Linked DNA regions of Homo sapiens: all the other regions are linked to region 4. The links are contacts of gene promoters, found by promoter capture Hi-C in blood cells and fetal thymus (Javierre and others, 2016). All regions are on one chromosome and are shown on one strand. The core of a region is centred on a gene start or on the middle of the fragment in contact, and the rest is flanking DNA. Distances in the headings are between cores, read along the strand shown. Region 1 overlaps F8 (coagulation factor VIII). Region 2 overlaps BRCC3 (BRCA1/BRCA2-containing complex subunit 3). Region 3 overlaps CMC4 (C-X9-C motif containing 4). Region 4 holds the start of VAMP7 (vesicle associated membrane protein 7). Region 5 overlaps FUNDC2 (FUN14 domain containing 2).

The links. The method cuts DNA at HindIII sites, captures the fragments that hold promoters and counts their contacts. A CHiCAGO score of 5 or more calls a contact.
Region 1: a contact is called between a fragment that was not itself captured here and the fragment with the promoter of VAMP7 in region 4, in 4 of 17 cell types (naive CD4 T cells, activated CD4 T cells, naive CD8 T cells and 1 more). The highest score is 7.7, in naive CD4 T cells.
Region 2: a contact is called between a fragment that was not itself captured here and the fragment with the promoter of VAMP7 in region 4, in 2 of 17 cell types (non-activated CD4 T cells and total B cells). The highest score is 5.3, in non-activated CD4 T cells.
Region 3: a fragment that was not itself captured here is called in contact with the fragment with the promoter of VAMP7 in region 4 in 6 of 17 cell types (total B cells, monocytes, fetal thymus and 3 more); the score reaches 7.0 in total B cells.
Region 5: a fragment that was not itself captured here is called in contact with the fragment with the promoter of VAMP7 in region 4 in 6 of 17 cell types (monocytes, M0 macrophages, total CD4 T cells and 3 more); the score reaches 7.6 in monocytes.

The regions. Positions count from the first base shown.
Region 1 is chrX:154,986,036-154,988,735 of GRCh38, reverse strand. F8 (coagulation factor VIII) reads left to right here. Exons shown (of 26, transcript NM_000132.4): 5 at 1,431-1,499. Among named protein-coding and RNA genes, the nearest start is that of F8, 35 kb to the left of the region's middle. The HindIII fragment of the contact is 1,668 bases long and covers 426-2,093 here.
Region 2 is chrX:155,088,081-155,090,780 of GRCh38, reverse strand. BRCC3 (BRCA1/BRCA2-containing complex subunit 3) reads right to left here. Exons shown (of 11, transcript NM_001018055.3): 6 at 1,430-1,518. Among named protein-coding and RNA genes, the nearest start is that of BRCC3, 18 kb to the right of the region's middle. The HindIII fragment of the contact is 4,571 bases long and covers 1-2,700 here.
Region 3 is chrX:155,066,557-155,069,256 of GRCh38, reverse strand. All of the region lies in intron 1 of CMC4 (C-X9-C motif containing 4), which reads left to right. The region is part of intron 1 of MTCP1 (mature T cell proliferation 1); the gene reads left to right. Among named protein-coding and RNA genes, the nearest start is that of CMC4, 3.2 kb to the left of the region's middle. The HindIII fragment of the contact is 3,486 bases long and covers 1-2,700 here.
Region 4 is chrX:155,880,087-155,882,786 of GRCh38, reverse strand. VAMP7 (vesicle associated membrane protein 7) reads right to left here and starts at 1,442. Exons shown (of 8, transcript NM_005638.6): 1 at 1,339-1,442. The HindIII fragment of the contact is 3,926 bases long and covers 1-1,747 here.
Region 5 is chrX:155,045,773-155,048,472 of GRCh38, reverse strand. It overlaps FUNDC2 (FUN14 domain containing 2), which reads right to left. Exons shown (of 5, transcript NM_023934.4): 3 at 1,889-1,964. Among named protein-coding and RNA genes, the nearest start is that of FUNDC2, 20 kb to the right of the region's middle. The HindIII fragment of the contact is 2,690 bases long and covers 1-2,636 here.

The DNA.
Region 1 (2,700 bases), core at 10-2,509, 890 kb after region 4:
CTAGAATAGGAACTGAACTAAGTTTTCTTGGTTCAGTGGGGGAATCTGCAATATCCCCAAGGTTTCCATTGGCCAGTATCTCCAAAATTCCATTCTAGGGTATGATTTGCTAGATAGAGAATAGTGAACACATCCTTTGCTTAATCAACCAATGATCACAAGGGACAGCAAAGATCACTATAGTTCAACAAAGTCAGATTTATTGGCTCATGGCAACAAGAGACTGTGGACACCTCCCTAAACAAAGGGAAATACTGTATAGAGTTAGTAAAGAATTTTGGGGAAGGGTGGAGGTTAGGTGATATTTAAATGAAGCAAAGTAGAGTTGTGTGTAAAGAAATAACCATGAGGTCTAGACTGTGAAGTGTTCTAAAAAGTTAACATAGACATGAAAGGTTAAGTCAAGGCACCCCTTACCTGAAGCTTGAGCTTTAAATTGAGCTGCTTCTTTGTGTCAAAGTAATTTAGATGACCTAGGAAAGAATGAGATGTTTCATTCTTGTTGCTATTAGTTCAAACATTTCTGGCAGGCTGTGAATTCAGAGAACAAACAACTCAATTGAGTAAGAAAGCAAGAGATAATCAAAGCAAATAGTTGGCATTCAGTGAGTTTATACAGTGGCAATGTGTCCTTGGGAGAAATGGTGTTGTTAACTCTGCAGTTAGCTTTATCTATGTCTCTTATCCCAGCCTGATGAGTAGCAGCACACGTACTGTTGCTTTCTTAGTCCAAGCTAATTTTTATTTCTAAGCATTAAGGGTGCGAGAGAGAGAAAGAACGGCAAAATGTCATAAACAAAAATCTTTCTACTCAAAATAAGCCTGTAAACAAAAGTTTCCAGTCAAATTTAAAAAATATATAATTCTAAGAAAGATAGCCAACAAGCTCAACAGTTAAAGCATGAAACAAGCTAGTTTGTTCCATTAAAAACTTCAGCTATCGATATACACGGTATTTATTTAAAATGTGAGTATAATTAGAAGCACTGTGGGCTATTGAAAAAAAATCATGAGTATAGATGTTTAATATGGACAATTGCTATTTTACTCAAAACTTTTAATTTACAATTGCAGAAGTATAAAAAGTTACAAGAGTAACAGAAATTATCTATAATTTCACTATTATCACACAGTGTGTGAGGGCTTGTATTTTGTAAGTGTTTTTAATTTTTTTCTTTAGTAATTCATTTTTATCATATTTTACACAAGTAGTGGTCTTCATCAAAGTTGAAATAAAAAAATTCTTTGCTCCAGATAGTTTTAGAAACACTGCTATAGGAGACCTGACATCAAAGCCAAGTTATCAAGAGACAGAAGACTACATTTGTTCTTACTGTCAAGTAACTGATGAAGAACTGTCTCCTCCTAGTGACAATTTCCTACAATGAGATTTTTTAAATAGAAGATAAATGTTCTCACTTCTTTTTCAGGGAGTCTGGCCAAGGAAAAGACACAGACCTTGCACAAATTTATACTACTTTTTGCTGTATTTGATGAAGGTTAGTGAGTCTTAATCTGAATTTTGGATTCCTGAAAGAAATCCTCTGCTACTATTAAGAGGAGGTGATTATAGAAAGATCATAAATTACATTACTGTTCAGGAATGAAGGAGATGGGGTTAAAAATGAATTCCAAGAAAACAAAACGTAACCTCAGTTCCACTGGCAGCTATGAGGTAAGAAGATAGAGGAGCTGGATAACGGACTGGCCTCATCCCCCTCATTAAGACTGTCAACAAATACTTTGGGCTCTACTTTCTAAATACTTTCTCTTATCTTCATCTATTATTAAGTGCACAACCTTTGGCAAGTTATTTAACCTCTCTGTGTCTCGGTTTCCTAAATGGAAATAATAGTACATTTTTCATAAGATTGTTGTGAGTGCTGAGTGATTTCACTTAAGTAACCTAGAGCACTGTGTGGCATAGAGTAGGCCCTCAATAGTGTTAGTACCTCCGCCTCTTCCTCCTCCTCCTAATGTAATCACTATGTAATCATAGTAACATAATATTCTTCTTGCCCCCTTATCAATTTACATTGCCATCTTCTTAATTGAGGCCCTCATGATCTGTCTCATAACTCTCAAAGGAAGCTTACTGAAGTGAGTATCTGATCTTGTCACTCTAGCCTCTACAATACTTCAGTTTGCCAGTTTCGGTGGCTCATGCCTGTAATCCCAGCACTTTAGGAGGCTGAGGTGGGCAGATTGCTTGAGCCCAGGAGTTTGAGACCAGCCTGGGCAACAGGGCGAAACCACATCTCTACAAAAGAATTAAAAAATCAGCCGGTCATGGTGGCGGGTACCTGTACTCCAGCTACTTGGGAGGCTGAGGTGGGAGGATCACTTGAGCCCAGGAGGTGAAGGTTGCAGTGAGCTGTGATTGCGCCACTGCACTCCAGCCTGGGTGATAAAGCCAGACCCTATCTCAAACAACAAAACAAATAAAATAATTCAATTTCAAGGTAAAGTGCAAAATGCATTATCTATTCTCTGGTGACATTTCCAGCCTTGTTGTGTTCCATTTCCTGCCTTATCTTCCATGTCACCCAAATATGTAATGCTTTTTCTTGCATGAGACCTCTGCATATGCAGTTTCCTCTGCCTGGAAAAATCTGTCTCCCTCTTTACACTAAGTAAGCTTCTCCTTTTTCTTTAAGTCTGACTTACTTCAGTTATCCCCTTCCTTAATTCCTTCTCCCA
Region 2 (2,700 bases), core at 3-2,502, 790 kb after region 4:
TCAAAGGAAAAAAGAAAGAAAGAAATATCACACAAAGAAAGATTAATATTGAAAAAGACCCCAAAGGTCCCTCTAGAAGCAGAATGTTAAAAGAGATACCAAAGATGGAATATGCCATAAATTAATTTCTATAAAAAGGATCATATGCTCAGTCAACATAAGATGGTCACAACCAAACATCTGCTCATGTAACAGCAGGGAATTGTTAACAAACACAAGAACCAGGAACCTAAGAACCTGAACATTCAAACTGCCATCCTGAAAGCTGACAAACTTATTCAACAACTACTTATGATGACAATAAATAAATAAACGCATGATGACAAGGTTGAAAGCATTTCAAATGATGTATAAAGTTCAAGGTACTGAACTTTAGTGTTTCTGGAAAACTGATTTTATGGAAAATATTCATTATTAACACAGATTCTGAGAATATAACTAATGCACTAAATAAGACACTATTGGTATTCTTAGCAGAATTCATACCTACAATGTTAAGTAGTAATTTTCTTTTTGTTTGAACTGACACATATTATAACCTCTTGACATGAACATAAAATTCAAACAGAATCCAAATAAAGAATGGCAAGACTGGCCACTGATCAAACTGTTTAACCTCTGTGAGCTTCAGTTTGTTCATTCATAAAATGGGAATAATACTCCTTCTGGGTTTTTGTCAGGGTTACAGCATATTTACGTAAAGCACCTAATAAGTACATGCCATACAATAGGTGATAAATGGTAGTTGTTACTATTAGTAGCCATCAAACTATATTCAGCATCCAACCACTTCTCATTATCTTCACTCTTACCTCCATGACCAAACCTCCATCATCTCTTGTCTAGATTACAGCAATATCTTCCTAACAGGTTTCACTGATGCCACGGATTCCACCCACACCCTCTGCCCACTGTTCAGTCTACACAGAAGCCAGAGAGATCCCATTAAAACATAAAGTCATCCTCCAGTGACTTCCCAACTCAGAGTCAAATCCAAGGCCTTACAAGATCTGGACCTTGTTTAGGACAACTAAATGAGTTATCATTCAAACTGGGACACTTCCAAGAGGGAAGGTCACTAGGATAATAGGGTAAAACTGGGACTGACAGAGGCAAACTGGCATGTATGGTCATGGTCTTCCTCACTCTGCTGCAGCCACACCAACTTCCTTGATGTTTCCTGAACATGCCACACTCACCTTAGGGTCTTTGGACTGGCTATTTCCTCTGCCTGGAACGTTCTTTCCCCAAGAAATCCACAAGACTTGTTCCCTCACCTTCTTCAGGTCCTGACTCAATGACCCTTTTCCTTGAAACCTTTCCTGACCATCCTATTAAAATCGCAAAGAGATTTTTCTCTACTCTGTGTGTAGACACACACACAGACCCTACACACACACACACACACACACACATGCACACACAATACCTTTGTGTTCTTATCTTCTATGAAACAGGAAAAAATAAGTCCTACAAAGCCTTGATCCATCATCTGGTACATGGCTTGTGTGCGAACATCTGAAAATAAATGAAAATTTAAAAATCTTCTGTCAATAAGCTGTGTCTCACAGCTTATTGATTTAAAGATTGACTTAAAGATTTAAAGATAACAGCAACATATAATCTTCCTAGGATTCAGATTGTACAGGCAAAACAGGAATATATCCTAAGGACAATATCAAAGTAAAAATGTTTTGCTAGGTTAGGGTAATACTATCGAAAGTCTGCCATTAAATAATAAAACTTATTAATAACTCTAGCCTGCCTAGCCCAAGAGTAGCTCTGCTATGGAATGTGGTAATAGAAAGAGAAATTAAAAAGGAGAGAAAGTATTTCCTAGAAAAAGCCTTTTGATGGACAGCTTCTAGGAAAGTGAACATATTTATTAGGCTTGCTACTAAAGAATAGAAGTGTGGAACAATTACAGAGGAAAATCTTACAGGAAGCCATTGTATGGAAGTGGTTGTGATATAAATTCAACATTCCAGAGAGTAGAAACCCCTCCTATATGGTTACTTGATTTTTTTCTTAATTCTGCTTGATATGGTTACTGAACTTTTGAAAAGAGATAATAAACAGGCACCAAATAACAACATTAGAAAGGATTAAAATATTAAATGCCAAAAACGGCCAGGCGTGGTGGCTCTTGCCTGTAATCCTAGCACTTTGGGAGGCTGAGGCAGGCGGATCACCTCAGGTCGGGAGTTTGAGACCAGCCTGACCAACAAGGAGAAACCCCTTCTCTACTAAAAATTCAAAATTAGCTGGGTGTGGTGGCGGATGCCTGTAATCCCAGCTACTTGGGAGGCTGAGGCTGGAGAATCGCTTGAACCTGGGAGGCAGAGGTTGCAGTGAGCCGAGATGGTGCCATTGCACTCCAGCCTGGGCAACGAGAGCAAAACTCCGTCTCAAAAAAAAAAAAAAAAAAGCCAAAAACTAAACAGAGGCTAAATTTAGTCTTCAGACCATTGTTTATAAAGGATACAAAAGATCAGGTGTCACAATGAAACACTGCAGATTACAGTTTTGCCCAATGGCTTACATTCACTTATTTTGGCAATCTGTTCTTCAACATTCTTTGTGTGTATACCTTTTTGATCTAGATTTTGACTTCTCCCCAATGTCCTCCTAAGTAAAGACTGAGACCAAACAGTACCCAGCAATGAGTACAAAGGAAATTGGCTGAAAATATTGCTAAAA
Region 3 (2,700 bases), core at 57-2,556, 810 kb after region 4:
GTGTATTCAACTGATCAATGTTTAAAAACTGTTCATCAACCTGGCAATTAAAGCAAACTATACTTTTTTAAAAAAGACACAAAAGAATTTATTCTGTAAAGGAAAAATGATAGTTTTACTTAGATTACTACCTAAGGAAGCCCTTCTATCTTATATGTCATCCATTTAAAACCTAATTTACAAAATGCCTTACTAAGAAATTGTCTGTCTTGGCCAGTGTGCTCTCTGGCCCCGAAATCAAGGTGACCCTCATGGGGACAATCTCTTCTAGTGGATGATAAAGTTATGCAGTTATCTAAACATTTTTGGAATTCATTTGTATTTGTAGCTGGCAGTATTCCTTGAGTTGAGTTGCACAAGTTTATATTCCATGTATTGTATTGCACCTTGTACCTAAGTCTATGTTGAGGTTTTAAAAGATTCGTCTTAGTTCGAGAAGTCCTGAATTTTGTAAACAAGTATCATGTGCAAATAAAATGTTCTCTAGTCAAATAAATTTGGGAAATGTTAACATAAAGTTTCTTTACTGCATAACTTGCCAGAACAGTTACTACACTAATGTGCTTTATGACTCTCCAAGATTCCCAAACTTATTTGACCAAGGAAAATGTTGGGAGCAAGTTTTCTAAGAATCACATTTTTCCACTCATAAAACCTGTGATTGTATAGGCTTTGATCTGAATCCCTCTCCCTCAGCCTTTGCATTTCTCTGCTGAGGACTTTGTTCATGCTCATATGGTGACTTCTCTGTCCCTTGATCACTGCAGTTGTCTTTCTCTGGGCCTGCATGCCCTCTGAATGCTAGCACACACAATTCCAGGATACTGTGCTGAGAGGTGGTTCCCAAGCTCATCCCGCTGATGCCCAGCATGTTGACCTTTGGGTCACAGCAGCACATCACACTGCCTTTCTTCTGAGAATATTTTGTAGTGACTCATAGGCCTCTTTGTAGTGACTCAGTAACTCAGACCATCATCTCCAAACTCTTTGCCCTCTATTCCACTGGCATTATTTCCTTTTAATGTCAATATAACCAATGCAATTTTGTTTTCCATTCAAAACAAATTTAAATGTCAACATGTTGGTTGTTGCTAGGACCTATCTATGAAATTGAGATGGTCCTGAAACCCTTAACACATGGTTTCCACTTTTTTAAAACAGTTATTGGCCACACTTAAGTCTTCTGTGCTTGAAATCCGAATTTAATATATTTTATTTTGACATTAGTATTTACCAGGTTTTTATTTGTATTTCTCTTTTCCAAAGCTCTGGGAAGGAAGAGAGGCAAAACAACTGTATCTGCAAATGGGAAAAAAGGGGGGCTTTGGAAAAAAATTATATATAGCCAGAGGCTTATGCCTAGAGAATCAATCTCTACCCACGTATACATAGCCAATCATGACAACCACTGTGGCGTTCCTTTGTTTCCCTTCCCTACCCACCATACATATACACCTGTTCACTGAAACATTGCTTGACCAGTACCTGAGACTTGGGGTGCCCAGAACTGTATCATTCCTGCTATTGAGCAGAATACAATACTGTGCTTTAGGGAAGACAGGACTTGTGAAATAAGCAAAGCAAATGTGTAAGGTGACTTTGTTTAAATATAAATGCTACAGTAGTCAAAAGAGGCAAGAATTTTCTAAAGTTTTCATAGAGGAGGCAGGCACCTGGACTCTGCTATAATAGCACTAAGATAGGCAGAGAGGCCCAGGGAGGCATTTTAGGCAAGTGGAAAACAAGAGCAAGGGTATGGAGCTAGAAATGAGCCTGGTATTTGGGGAAAGTTGGTCTCAACTGCAGTGGTAGTTGTAGTGCCTGCTGGAATTGGTGACATATAGGATGTAGCAACTGAATAAGAGGAAGAAATCCAAGATAATTCATAAGTTTTGAGTCTGCAGGATCAGGAATGGTGGTGTTGCCATTGAGAGAAATCAGGATTTGGTTAAAGAGAAAGTTTAGACGAGTTTGAAATGAGAGAGCACATATGTATGAAAACTAAGACAGGAGCTTACACCAGGCTCAGAGTCAGATGCACTCAGGGTATAATGGGTGAAGCATCTGGTTGCTCTCGACAGTCTCACTTTGAGGACTCTAACAACCACCCTCCCACGCTGCATTTCTTTTCCCACCTAATGAGAATAGCAGGTCTTTGTTTTGAGGGGCAGCTCCCCAGTGCCGTATCTATACTCTGGCCAAAGGTAGAAATACAGTACAACTGCGCTATAATGCTCTGAGTAAGGTCTAGAAGATTGACTCATGCAAAATGCACATCAAGTTATTGTGAGGTCCTGAAATGATATCTGGGGCTTGGGCAGAGGATCGTTATAGAGTTTGCCCTACCACTCAAATGCTTTGGGAGGTATGCTTCCTTTACACCTCTCAAATGTGCTTCTGGTCTTCTGGCTTAGGAAGTCAAAATTTAAACCTAGTCCTCTATGGAAAAATGGGCTCCTGTAACATCCTGCAGAATTATTAAAATAAAACAAGGACCTAGATGGATAACTTTCATTTGCACTCACTCAGCTCCAAATCAGCATGATCCCCAAAGTCTCTTGCAGCTCAGAAATTCCATGAAGCTAGCTTACTTTTCCTAACAAGAAAATCCCCTTCTAGAAATGCCCATCCGCTATTTGTAAACTTTCTTAGTAAACTGATAAATAGATCATTTGCCCTTAAAACAAACTTTTAATTTCA
Region 4 (2,700 bases), core at 193-2,692:
TGAGTGAACATTGAGCATATTTTGGTTTTAAAATATACTATAAATGGTAGATAACTTTATATTCAGAAGGACCTGGTAAGAATAATATTTTCACAACCAAACTATCTTTCTAAGTAAGATAAAGCAGTTGAGCTAATAGTAATCCAATCCCCCACTCTTCTCTCTGGGTCTTAGAAGGAATAAACCAACTACAGATAAACCATGAATTCTGATGCAATAACCTTGGAGGAGATAGAAGAATGAAGAATAAACACTGCTTAGACAGGGGAAAAGAAGAGGTGTTTACGAAAAGTCATGTTACAGATCAAGATTATTCCTGTTGGTATTACAACTATTCTTTCTGGACGATGCCCTGACCTCTGACTTTCTTAGGATAGGATCCCATCCTTTCAAGTCAACCACCTGTTTTATTTTGCATTAACCAATATATAACATAATCCTGATTATTCCTGTTTTCCCCTCTAGACACAAACATGTAAGTTCCTGAGAGTAGCAACCTCCTAAGTCTTGTTTACAGCTGTATCCCCTGCACTTAAAAGAGTGTCAAGCATATACCAGCCGTTCAATAAATATTTGTTAAATGTATGAATGGATCTGCTCTCAGCCACAGGTATTCAAAGGGAATTAATATCCTAAACATGACTGTATCCTCTGGGATCAAGGGAGGGATAATGGAGATACAGGTAGTTGAAAGCAATTAATGAGGCCAAATGAAGACAGTTGGTTGGTTGTGAGAGTTATGGGAGACGGAGATGTAAAGCATTTACCAAAGTACGCAGTCAGAATTTGATAAACATTGGCCATTAATAAAAACACCAAACAGGTCTGAAGCTGAGGAAACGGGTCTAGGCAGAAATACAGTCCCTGAACAGAGGAAGAAGGGGACTGTCAATACTGAGCAGTGGAGGAAGGGCGAATAAGGGGCTAGGAACCCACGAAGGAGCATAAACAGCCAGAAGTAGAAGGTGAAGCAGAAAGTGACGTCATCGAACAAGGACGTAGAGAGTTTTTAGAAGACTCTGGCGATCTCAAGAGATTTAAATGCTACAGAAAGGTCTTGTAGAATACAAACTGAGAGAAAGTTAACATTTTTTCCCTCCTGTAATGACAGCTTAAGTGACGCATTCTGACACTCTTTAACTCGAGGCCTTTCCAGTGGCATAAGACGCACCTCGCCAAAACTGGTCCTGCCCGACAACTGGAACTGTCGACACCAGAGAAGCCCAAGTCACCCCTGCACTGCCTCCTCGCTCCACCCCAGCACCTTTCCATCGACACCTCCGCCCTCCCTCCGCAGTTCTCTCCCCGCCTCCCGCAGGCGCACCCCACTCCATTTACCTGTCCGGGCACCCTCTGAGGGCGCGCGGGCTCGGGACGGAGGGACGCGGGTCAGTGCAGGGTCGCCAACTGCCCGCTCCCAGAGGAGGCTGGGACCGGACGCCGCTGACTTCCGCATGAAGCGCCCCGTCTACGCGTGGCCTCTTGGGAGTGGGAGCGCTCCTCCAATGGCAGCAGGCGACACGGCTAGGCCTGCTGCGTTCCCAGCCCCCCGCACTTCCCAGGAGCCGTACTGCATTCTGGGAGTAGTAGTTCCGGTTGGAGTATCACTGAGTGTTTCACGTTCGTTCGACAGCTCTTGTGGTAAACAGCGTCAAATGCCGTATAGGGATCCAGGAAAATGAGAGGATGCAGGCTAGATAAAGAATCTACCAGCAATGAGTAGGCGGCATAAATGAAGAGCCAAGCTTGCCCCGTCTCTCCTGCTTAGTCTCAGTAGGCAGCGTCGCCCGTTTCCTCACAGACAAAATAGAATTCATCTGACAGGAACTGCCTCTACTTTCGCCATGAAATTTTCTAATTTTCTTGTACCCCTCACCAATCCTTTCTCCTATTCTTTTTGCAATAATAATAATAATAAACGACTACTCTCCTTTGATCTAAGCCAGCCCTCTTCCATCTCTATTCCCTGTTGCCGACTCAGAGTCAAGCTCCTCTGATGAACCCTTCCGTTGCATGACTCCTCAACGGCTCTCTGCTAACTCGCTCTTTACTATCAGGACTTAAAGGCTGTCAAAATTTCTCTCATCTAAAACATTCCAAAGTCACCTTTCTTAACCCCATACCCCAAGCCCCCTCATCAAACACAGACCAAACACAGATAAGCTAGTGGTCTTTCTCTCACCTCTCCTTTACAGACAGAATTCTCAACAGTGTTGCTAAAACAAATAGATACTTTTAAGCCATTACCGTATTTCAACTCTGCAGGACTTTAGTTTCATTATTCCTTTTTTTTTTTTTTTTTTTTTTGAGATGGAATCTCACTCTGTTGCCCAGGCTGGAGTGCAGTGCCGCGATCTCGGCTCACTGCCAGCTCCGTCTCCCGGGTTCAAGCGATTCTCCTGCCTCAGTCTCCCAAGCAGTTGGGACTACAGGCGTGCGCCACCACAGGCAGCTAATTTTTTATATTTTTAGTAGAGACGGGGTTTCACCATATTGGCCAGGCTGGTCTCGAACTCCTGACCTCATAATCGACCCGCCTCAGTCTTCCAAAGTATTGGGATTACAGGCATGAGCCACCACACACGGCCCTTATTCCCTCCTTTTTGAACCCCTTTATTCTGTTAGCTCTTTCCAAGAACTACACCCTGCTGGTTCTCCTCCCACCTCTGTGGCAGCTCTTCATTTTCTTTAGAAATGTTC
Region 5 (2,700 bases), core at 42-2,541, 830 kb after region 4:
GAGTCACAGCCACACATACATGGGTTCTGATATATGAAAGAGACAATGCTGCAAATGTTGGGAAAGGGAAGAATTATTCACTAAATTCTGCTCAATTATCAGTATGGAAAAAAGGAAACTGGATCCCTATGTCAAACTATAACTTGTGATATAACTGATCTCCCAACATTATGCTTGCCTCCTGCTCTCACTCCCCTGGTGACAGATAACATGAGTGCCTGCCACAGATTCTCCATGTCTCACCTCTGCAGCAAAGCAGTGTCCCTGTACCCCTTGAATATTGGAATTATCCAACCCCAAAATCTCATTTTGAGGTGCCTTTCTGGAGACATTTTCAATACCAATTATTTCTGTCAGGGCCCCAAAACGAAACAGAGGACACACTCAAATTAAGACATTTCAAAGCAATATTAAAATGTTTATGAAGTTTGGGGCAGCATATAAGGGAAACCACAGGGATAGAGATGTTACTGCACTTCCACCTGAAGGGTCAAGGGGAAGGAGAGAGAGGTGTGAGGAGGGGCCCCACCTTGCAGGGAGTCTGACCTGTCTAGCAACAGAGCCAGCACGTAACAAGCCCACAGGGAAGCAGCCAACAAAAGTGAGGCTTGGGCAACAAAGGAGATGCAACTTGCACCATGTTTCTGCAGAACTGTGCTTGGGAGTCCTGAGGTCATGGTAGTGTGAGGAAGCCTATACTGGCACAGGGACCACATGGAAGAGCACTGAGACTATGGACAGGGGGGAAATAAGGAGAGGAGGAGGGAAGACAAACAGAGACAGAGACACAAAGAGGCCCCACAAGTCCAGACCTACCCTAACCCTCTGATCATCTGGCCTGTAACCACATGAGACTCTGATCCACAAGCACCTACCTTAACCCTCCCCAAACTCCTGTAACCATGAGAGAGAATAAAGTGATCATTATTTGAAGCCATTAGGTTTGGGGGAATTTGTCATGCAGCAATACCACACTCAACCCAGCTACAGCCAGTTACCAGCTTCCCTCTTCGATACATTTGATTTTCACCTGACCTATCTGCAAAACTCACTCCAATCATGGTGCTAATGCAGAACTTACCTTGCAAAAGTGAGGGTTGCCAACTGTGGGAAGAGACAAACGGCTGTGAATTCAGAGACTCTGGCATGATTCAGCAAGTTATGGCTCCCACAGCACAGCAGAATCACCTCAGGAGTTTTAAGTTTTCCAATGAAATCAGACTGTGGGTCAGGAGTGGCACACGTTGGCTCTTTTAAAAACTCCTAGGTGATTCCAATGTGGAGCCAAATTTGAATACCAATGCCACAGAGCTAAGAAATGTATGCCTAATACAATCAAATGTCAGTTTTCTTTTGTTTTTGGAGAAACTGCTCCCTTTTTCAAGTCTTGCTTGTTAGTCTCTCCTAAGCAGTCTCAGAGAACTGGCAACCACTGGTTCTGAAACTATGGGTCAAGGAGACAGCAGACGACATCTGACTGTACTGTCACTTAGCTCCCATTTCTCATCACATGCTCAACATCCCCTCTGTGAAAGCTAGCTATAATATTAGCATATGACACTAAATCATCACAGCACACTTGTATTTTTGAAATCACATCCGCTTAATAATTCAGCTGGTCTTAAAAACTCTTTTAAGGGAGCTATGATAAGGAATTTGCACTTCTGTCGCCACATGAGGAAATAAAATGGGACTGGCAAATAACATTTACTAGTATAATGAATAAAATTTGACTCAAACGGTCACTAGCATTTAAAATAGTACATGAAAACAAGTGCTAAGGCTAGTCTAGTGTGACATAGCCAGGACTGTATTACAACTCCCCACACCACATTCCTTAATGGGCAGGTGGAATTTCCAAACATCTGAGAACATTTCACATACAGACCTGAAGGAGAAAAAATCCACCTCCCACAGCTGTTGCAGCCAACTTTCCAACCTTCTGGAATATGAAACCTGTGCACCTACAAAAACAAACCAACATCAGACAAATTGATGAGCTGTCAGTTACATACAAACATGCATTTCTGGCAATGTTCATATCTTACTTAGCTTAAGATGACCTAGCTCCTTCCTACCCCCTACATAAAGCCAGCCCCAAGAGGAGCATGACATAAGGAAATCAAATCTTGGCTCTATGAATCTTGTGGTCTTGAGTAAGTCCCTTAAAACTCTCAGGTTATATTTTTAAAAGATGACTCTGGCTACATTGTGGAGAAGAGATTAAAGGGGGAGGACGAAGGCAGAGACTCTAGTTAAGACGGTGAGGTAGCGATCCAGAAGAGAAGTGAATGCCAATGGGCCGAGGTAGAGATGGCAAGGAGGGAGCAGACCTGAGGAACTGTTTGTGAAGAAAAAAAAAAACACTCCTGAGTTTGAGGACAGGATGGTTGCAAGGGATAAGGCACAAGATTCTGTCCTGAATGTGGCATTTTTTACAATATAAAAACAAGGAAGAGGAATAGAGGAAAAGGTGGGGGAAGGGAGGGGAGGAGATAATGTCATTTTGAATATGTTGAATGCAAAATGTCCATATGATATCTGAGTGGCAACATCTTGTAGCCAGTTTAATATAATTATGTGTTTCTTTATTACTGTCTATCTTCCTGCCCCCACCCGATACTAAAATGTAAGCTTCATGAAGGCAGAGATTTTGTTGTTTCATTGCTGAACACCTATCAGCTGTAATCATTAACCATT